2 separate regions of the Homo sapiens genome follow, and region 1 is linked to region 2. The links are contacts of gene promoters, found by promoter capture Hi-C in human tissues and cell types (Jung and others, 2019). All regions are on one chromosome and are shown on one strand. Each heading gives the region's core, a stretch centred on a gene start or on the middle of the fragment in contact. The rest is flanking DNA. Distances are from core to core; before and after follow the strand shown. Region 1 overlaps LOC101929555 (a long non-coding RNA gene). Region 2 holds the start of APOBEC2 (apolipoprotein B mRNA editing enzyme catalytic subunit 2).

Region 1 (4,366 bases), core at 1,108-3,607, 82 kb before region 2:
GTCACTCTTCTAGGTGCTTTACACTGAGTAACTCATTTACCCTTCATAGCAATTCTAGGAGATAAGTACTGCTGTTTTCCCCATTTCACAGATGAAGAAACTGAGGCTACAGAAGTTAAGTAACTTCCTCAAGCTCAGTGGTGGAGCCAGCCATCTGACCCACAGAAGCAAGTTGCTGGAGGCAGGCTTTTGGGACCACAGACTGGGAAGATGATATCTTCACCAGTGAAGATTTCCAAGGCCAACATCACATGGCCAAATTGCATCACCCCATGGCCCTGGGCTCTTCTCCCTGTTCACACTAAAACTCAGAAACATTTATTCATGGGGGGAGTAGTCAGCACACTGGTTGCTCAGGTCTGAGAATGCCAGGGCTGAGCTAGCAGGGTTTGCAGGTCCCAAGGCAATTTGCATCTCCTGTTGGAAGTCTTCCTCATCAAAGCAACGGAAATCAATGCAGTAAATAGTTATAATGAACTGACCTGCTCACACTCCCTGTCTCTTCCTGAGGAAGAGGAATCATGAGAGACACATTGTTTCCAAATCCTTCACCTCTTTCCCCCTCGCCTGATCCTCCCACAGGGAATCCTCTTTGCTCCTGTCAACAGTGTTTGAGATGTTTCAGAGTTTTTATTGGATCTTCATTGTAGCTCTGTCTGTGAGGATTCAGTGAAGCTAAGATTTAAGGGCCAGAGAGAGTTGAAACTTCTACCAAGCATCAGCCATGGCTGCCCTGCTTTCCAGAGTACTGTCCACGGACCTCTGGGCCTCAGGGACTAGAGAATGTCAGGGGACCATCTCATTTCATACATGTAAAAACTGAGGCACGGAGAGGGCAGGACCACCCAGCACAGGATCAGCACACCTCTCCAACATCAGTACACCCCACCTTTTCAGGCAGATACAGGAATCTCCTCCGCAGCAAAGTGTTGATAGGTGGGAAGCAGTGCTGTGATGCCCTTAGCTTTGGCATCCAAATGCTTGAGTTTTAATGCCTGACCCACCATTTCCTTGCTGTACAAGACCTTGAGAAAGCTAATTAACCTCTCAGTAACTGTTTTCTCATATATAAAACAGGGATGAAAATAAAAGTATGTGCTCCATTGAGTTGTTGGAAGCTTTAATAAACACAGGAAAAAAATTAGAATTGTGTCTACCATGTAGTAAGTATTCAATAAATGTCAGTGACTATGCCCATGATGAATATGGTGAATATGATTATGATGATCATGGGCATTATCCCTGGTGCTAAGAGTCACTTCTACAGGAGTTTAGCTTGCCCTGACCTAGAACATTGAGGCAGGGCATGAACTCAATGTTGCACTGAGAACCAGTCTAACACAGGAATGTTTTCTCTGTTTCACAGGTGTCAGTCATGTTCTCTGGATAAATGATAAGATTGAAAGTCCTTGAAGGCAGGAGACAGCCCCAGATATCGTTTTGTTGTCTGACACAATACCAAGCACAAATGATGTGCCTAAATCCTGGGTCTTTAACCCAAGGCCATCTACATATGCCCTGGGCCTGCCAGCTCATGAAAACCAGCCTCTGTGGCAGTTGGGGTGCTAAGGAATTGCTCCAGTTGAGCTTCACTGGTTTTTACTCTTGGCTGTCATGCTTGGATCTCTTGATTATGTTCCATCAGTTCACCCCCTGCCTCTGGGCTGAAAGATTTGGTGTTCTTTCTAAGTTTTCTTGCATGATTTGTGGCTTAGAACGTCTTTCCCGTACATCTCTAGCCCTTTCCATCTCAAATGTTGACTCAGATTATTGGCTCAGGGCAAAGCCACTGGCTCCAGCTCTTAACCCTGTAGAATCTCACCTATCCCTGGCACCCAACATAGACATCCACCCCTTCAACTCCACCAAGCTAGGGAGTAGAGAGTAGTTGTCTTTTCCATCCATTCTCTCCCTTCCCCTCCTTGTCTAATTTCTAAGAGTTAAGAGTGGGCACTTTTCCAACATTTCCGTGGTTACGGGTAACTATGTCACTCAATCCTGGCCACATGAGGTGGGACACTAGCCCACTGGAAGAGTTTTCTTCTTAATAGAAGAGAGAAATCTGTAAGAATAATCCCCCACTGTTCCTACCTTGGGTGCTATTATGTGAGGCCTTGATGCTTGAACCTGTGGCAATGATCTTGCAACATGAGGAAAGGGTCACAAGAATTGCAGAGATACTGACTGGAGCCCTGAGCTGTTAAATAAACCAACTCCAAACCAATGGGAATGGGGTATGGAACCACCAGTCTCTAGATTTTCTGTGACAAGGAACAATTAAGCTTCCATATTTCTTAAGCCTATTTTAGTCAAGAGCTCAGTTAGTTGCAGGCAGAAGCATTCCAAAGTTTTATCAAGTAAGCATCAATTTGCCTATCACAAACTTTATCAAGGTGTTGGTAGATTCTACCTTGTAGACATAATGTGATCTACTAGGAATCTATGTAGAAAATTCAAGAATCCAAGAATTTGGGAGAAAACTTAAAAGTCGTCCATATCTGACATATAGATCAATGGAATAAAATGGAGGGTCCAGAAACAAACTCTCATATTTATGGTCAACTGATTCTCAACAAGGGTGCTAAGAAAATTCAATGGGGGAAATAATAGGCTTTTTGCCAAATAGTGCTAGATAACAGAATATATCCACATGCAAAATATGAATTCAGAACCCTATCACACACCATATAAAAAAATAGCTCAAATGGATCAAATATCTAAATGTAAGCACTAAGACTACTAAACTTTAAAAGAGAATGCATGTATAAATCCATGACCTTGGATTAGGCAATGGTTTCTTAGATATGACACCAAAAGCAATCAAAGAAAAAGACATATAAATTGGACATTAACAAAATTTAAAAATGTTGTGCTTCAAAGAACATCATCAAGAAAATTTAAAAAACCTTGAATACTGTATATATTTTCTCCAAAAAAGTTACACAAATAGCCAATAAGCTCACAATGTGCTTCTCTGCTGAGCCCAGAGAGAGCAAGATACTACTACTCAACTAGCCCTTTAGACAGCCACCACAAACACATACGAACGGGCACATGGGATGAAATGTGTTTACCATTCCCAATCTAGGACAACGGTACCCAAAGGAAATGTTGGTGACTATGCCCATGATGAATGCTTATAAACCAACATTTCCTTTGTTTTGTAAAACATTTGAAGCCATGTCCATGGACACAGAGGAAACCATGACGGCACCAGAATGTCTATTTCTGTCCTTGAGATGATGCTAAGACTAGGATATCCCTGTGTCTAGGAACTCACTACTATTGTACTGGTGTAGCTCAGTCCATCTTTGAGGAACAAAAAGAAGTTCTATTTTTTTATTTCAACTTTTATTTCAGATTCAGAGGGTACATGTGCAGGTTTGTTGCAAGGGTATATTGCATGATGCTGAGGTTTGGGGTACAATTGAACTCATCATCCAGGTAGTGAGTATAGTACCCAATAGGTAGTTTTTCAACCCTTGCCCCTCTCCTTCCATCCCTCTCTTGTAGTCCCCAGCATCTAGTGTTCCCATCTTTATGCCATGTATACTCAATGTTTAGCTCCCGCTTATAAGTGAGAACACGCAGTATTTGGTTTTCTGATTCTGTATTAATTCTCTTAGGATTATGGCATCCAGCTGCATCCATGTTGCTGCAAAGGACATAATCTCATTATTTTTTATGGCTGTATAGTATTCCATGGTACATATGTACCACATATTATTTATCCAATCCACTGCTGATGAGCACCTAAGTTGATTCCATGCCTTTCCTATTGTGAATAGTGCTGTGATGAACATACGAGTACAAGTGTCCTTTTGGTAGAATATTTATTTTCCTTTGGGTATATCCCCAGTAATGATATTGCTAAGTTGAATGATAGCTCTATTTTTAGTTATTTGAGAAATCTCCTAACAGCTTTCCACAGTGCCTGAACTAATTTACACTCCCACCAACAGTGCAAAAGCATTGCCTATTCTCCGCAACCTCGCCAACATCTGTTGTTTTTTTACTTTTTAGTAATAGCCATTCTGACTGATGTGAGATGGTATTTCATAGTGGTTCTTATTTATATTTCTCTGACGATTAGTGATGTGGACCATTTTTTATATGTTTCTTGGCCACTCGTATGTCTTCTTTTGAAAAGTGTCTGTTCATGTCCTTTACCCACTGTATAATGAAGTTGTTTTTCACTTGTTGATTTGTTTAAGTTCCTTATAGACCTTTGTCAGGTGCATACCTTGCGAATATTTTTTCCCTTTCTGCAGGTTGTCTGTTTACTCTGTTGATAGTTTCTTTTGTTGTGCAGAAGCTCTTTAGTTTAATTAAGTCCTACTTGTCAATATTTGTTTTTGTTGCAATT
Region 2 (4,131 bases), core at 1,416-3,915:
TGATCTTATACAAATCACTTCACCTTTCTCAGCCACAAGTCCCTAACTTGCAAAATGAGGCCCATAATTCACACCCATGTGAGACTGGTGTAAGGACTAAATGAGATAATGCATGCTTGAATGCTTGATTAATGCCCCAAATATGATAAAAGCTGGGATCCCCTGGTGAGCCAGCACCTTATTTATCTCTGTACTCTTGGTATTTACCACCGCACCTGGAACATAGGAACCTCTGATAAATGTTGACTGAACAAGAAAATGAAGTAAACTCTTTACATTTAAACGTGGTATGTTTGTGTGATAACAACATTCTTTGCAGTTTATCAGCTGCCACTGTCTTTTTATTGTGGACACAGGCACTATTATCTCTACTCAGTGCTTTATTCCCCCCGAAAAATGTTTGAAAAAATAAGATCCAGATAAAAATGCTTTCAGTGGCTGGGCGCGGTGGCTCATGCCACCCAGCATTTTGGGAGGCCAAGGCAGGCGGATCACGAGGTCAGGAGATGGAGACCATCCTGGCCACATGGTGAAACCCTGTCTCTACTAAAATTACAAAAATTAGCTGGGCCTGGTGGCACATGCCAGTAGTCCCAGCTACTTTGGAGGCTGAGGCAGGAGAATCGGTTGAACTCGGGAGGCGGAGGTTGCAGTGAGCCAAGATCGTGCCACTGCACTCCAGTCTGGTGACAGAGTGAGACTCCATCTCAAAAAATAAATAATAATAATCCTTTTAGTAGTAAATCCAAAAGGTAGGGGACCATATAATTTATTGTCCACAGCGGGACACCTTTGGGAGTAAAGGGGTGCTATTAGTAATTATGTCTGGACAACAGGAAGAAACCATGACTGGCAAACCAAAATGCTGGGCATCACACTAACAGAGCACTCTGCTGCTCAGACTCTCTGGAGGAGTGAGCCCTAAATCTTCCAAACCATCTTGACTCCTCTTCTTTAGTCAGACCCTCCAAAGGGTGCCCTACCCTCTCATCCCCACCAGCCAAACCCATTTGGAGCTGTTTTCAGATCCGTTCCCCAGTGTTCTTAGGTTCCTCATTTTCAACCTACAAGTGACCCTGACCCCTTCCTTCTGCTTCCCTGAGAATGGCCTAGAGTGTTTGCACTGCTCCAAACACGAAGACTTTTGCCTCTGCTAAGTACCCATCATGAGAGCTGCAAAAATCATCTAGCCATCCTCTGCTGCTGTTCCGGCTCAGGGTCTTTTCTATGGGCCCCCATCATCTCTCTCTGGCCTCAGTAGGCTTCTCACTGGTCCCCTGCCTCTGCTCTTCCCAAGTGCTCAGACCACCTGTCTCACCTGTTCAGAGACAATGGCTTCCCACCTCAGTCTGAGAAAAAGCAAGGTACTTATGACAGCCCATAAGGCCCCAGTCCCTTTTACCCTTGTTATCTCTCTGGCTTAATCTCTTAGAACTCTTCAGTCACCCAGATGTATGTCCTCGCTAGTTCCTCAAACACCCCAGGAATGCTCCCTTCTCAGAGCCTTTGCTCACGTTGTTCCCTTCCTTGGAACGCTTTCCTCTTAGACAACCAAATGATTAGTTCCCTTGCCTTCTTCACGTCTTCTTCAATTGTCTCCTTTTCAAAGTCCTTCACCCTGGCCATCCTATAAGTACGTAACCCCACCTCTTAGCACTTCCTGTTTCCATTTCCTGTCTTTTCTCCTTGGCACTTGTCATCACAAAATAGACCATGTATTTTACTTACCTTATTTGTTGTTCAGTTCCTCAAGCTCCACAAATCATCACAGCAGGGATTTTCATTTGCTTTGTTCTTTTGCCATATTCCCAGTACCTGAAACAGCACCTGGCATAGAGTAGATACTCAATAAATATTTGTTAAGAAGAATAAAAGACTGACTGTGAGGGCACATAGCATGGAGGTTGAATATTTGGCCTGAAGTACAAAAGCCTGCATTTTAATCCCGGCTCTGCACACTTCTGTGACTCAGTTTACCTGTAACTTGGGATAATACACATCGCCTCCCATGGCTGTGGCAAGCATGCATCTGATTTCATTTAAACCCCTAAACCCACTGCCTGGCCTGTTTCAAAATCTCTGAGCTAAGTAAATGGCAGCTATTGTTACTCAGGGAGGCTCCTGATCGATTTGACATTACATTATGGCTTTGTAACAGGCAAATCAGCACCCACCGCTTTTGAGTCATAACTCACACACTTACTCCCCAAATTGTCAGTTTTGATCCCACCTCTGCCAGGACCCCTCCTTTCCTGAACCCACGTTCCCCCAAAGCAAATGGCCTGGGTCTTTTTGCAGTCAGCCCCTTTCAACACACATCTCCTCCTGTTTAAATCTCAGAAGGCCACCCTCCTAAATCTCAGGATGCCTGCCCTGGGGCCCCTTCCACACTCTCCCCCAGTGGAGCTAGGGAATTTGGGTGGGAAACAAAGGGGAGAACATAAGGTGAGCTGAGAGGGAGAGGGAGAAGAGAGCAGGCCAAGCCATACCCACCTGCCAGGTTCCTGTCTTTGCCTACTGATAAATAGGGGATACTAATGGCCAGATTTTCCATTCCCCCACCCCAGCACCCGCTGTCACTCAATTAAAAAAAGATAGAGGGAGAGAGCCTGGGGGAGGGGCAGGAGGCCTTGGCTATAAAGCCTGTGGCTAAGTGGGGAAAGCACGAAGCCTGGCCTGCTGGGTCCTTTTCCCGTCATCCCCAGCCAGATTTAGCTGCTGACAGCTGCTTGGGACTCTGCCGCCAGGGCCTGGCCCAGACCTGCCTGCCTCTCTCCTCTCCCTCAGTGACTCCTGAGCCACAGCCCCTCCATGGCCCAGAAGGAAGAGGCTGCTGTGGCCACTGAGGCTGCCTCCCAGAATGGGGAGGATCTGGAGAACCTGGACGACCCTGAGAAGCTGAAAGAGCTGATTGAGCTGCCGCCCTTTGAGATTGTCACAGGGTAAGCCTCAGATGTGGGTCAGGGTTCTGCTCCCTAGAAGAGTGCAGCCTTGGGTTAGGCTGTGGAAATTCAGGATGGTTATATTAGGCGTCAGGGACAGCTACAACCCTGCAGCAGTGAGAGTGCACCAGTGGGCCCGGCAGGGGTGGTAGGGGACCCAGCAGCAAATTCTCTTGGCTTCTCAGGGTGACACCTTGGGCTCTCTAATCAGGGAGAGGTAGGAGGAGCTCCTTGGAGGCAAAAGCCCAGAGAATAAAACCACCCTTCAGGCCTCCTGGTATTGGGATGGCCACCTGCCTCTCTGGGTAGAAGCTTAGTCCCAGGGAGTTTGGCGAGGACAGAGGATGAGACTGGCACATCTATATGTGGCTCCGTTCAAAGCAACCCTTCCCCTCAACTTCTCTGTTCCTGAGTGGGTCTCTCCGCTAGCCATAGGCCTCTAGCCCTTTCTTTAGAGCTTCTTCCTGGAGTAGATGCTCCCAAGACAGGAAAGATAGATCCATCCTTTCCCAAGACTCAGAAGCAGCTTTTTTCTTATTAAATCTTTTGAGTCTCCTCAGGGGCTGTCCCACAGAGAAACAGAGAAATTACATGCAGATAACGCAGCCCAGGAGCTTATGGACACAGGAGCTGTTCCAACATGCTCAGGCATTGCCTGGAGGAACTGGGACCCAAAGAAAAGGGTCTACAGACTGCAAGGAGGGGGCTGTGTGCAGGGTACCTCTGTCTTATCCAGATTATGCCATCTCCAGGAATAAAACTAAGTAGTCTTCTTCCTCTTCCCTTTCTATTCCTGTAGTGGAAGACCCTTCTAAATCCTGAGCAAAGAATAAAAAGAGAATCTATGAGGCCATATTTCCTCCTTGAACCAAACGTTCCCTTCATGGGGTCTCCAGGAATGACCACAGGCAGAGTGGGTGCGAGACTAAGAGAAGTTTCAGGAAGAAAGGAGGCATGATGCTTTCAAGGGGGAAAGGAAGCCCTGAGTGGCAATTTGGACTTGATATTTCAAGCTTGACAAGTGATTTTCCAGTCAGCCACAGTTTTAGCACTTATAACATGAAGATCTATAGTAGTAAGGTCCCTTCCAGCTCAGATGTTTTCTGATTTTCAAGAGAACCTAAGGGAAAATGCATCCTATTTCCTGAGGCAAGAGTAGCCCCTGAATTTCCATTTGCCCATGCCCACC

Evidence for each region. The method cuts DNA at HindIII sites, captures the fragments that hold promoters and counts their contacts. A contact is called where the count stands out against the background at its distance.
Region 1: a contact is called between a fragment that was not itself captured here and the fragment with the promoter of APOBEC2 in region 2, in 4 of the 25 tissues and cell types used here (bladder, heart right ventricle, mesenchymal stem cells and 1 more).

Annotation. Positions count from the first base shown.
Region 1 is chr6:40,968,719-40,973,084 of GRCh38, forward strand. All of the region lies in intron 1 of LOC101929555 (a long non-coding RNA gene), which reads right to left. Among named protein-coding and RNA genes, the nearest start is that of UNC5CL, 68 kb to the right of the region's middle. The HindIII fragment of the contact is 6,341 bases long and covers 1-4,366 here.
Region 2 is chr6:41,050,537-41,054,667 of GRCh38, forward strand. It overlaps APOBEC2 (apolipoprotein B mRNA editing enzyme catalytic subunit 2), which reads left to right and starts at 2,666. Exons shown (of 3, transcript NM_006789.4): 1 at 2,666-2,942. The coding sequence starts at 2,812. The HindIII fragment of the contact is 7,265 bases long and covers 1-3,604 here.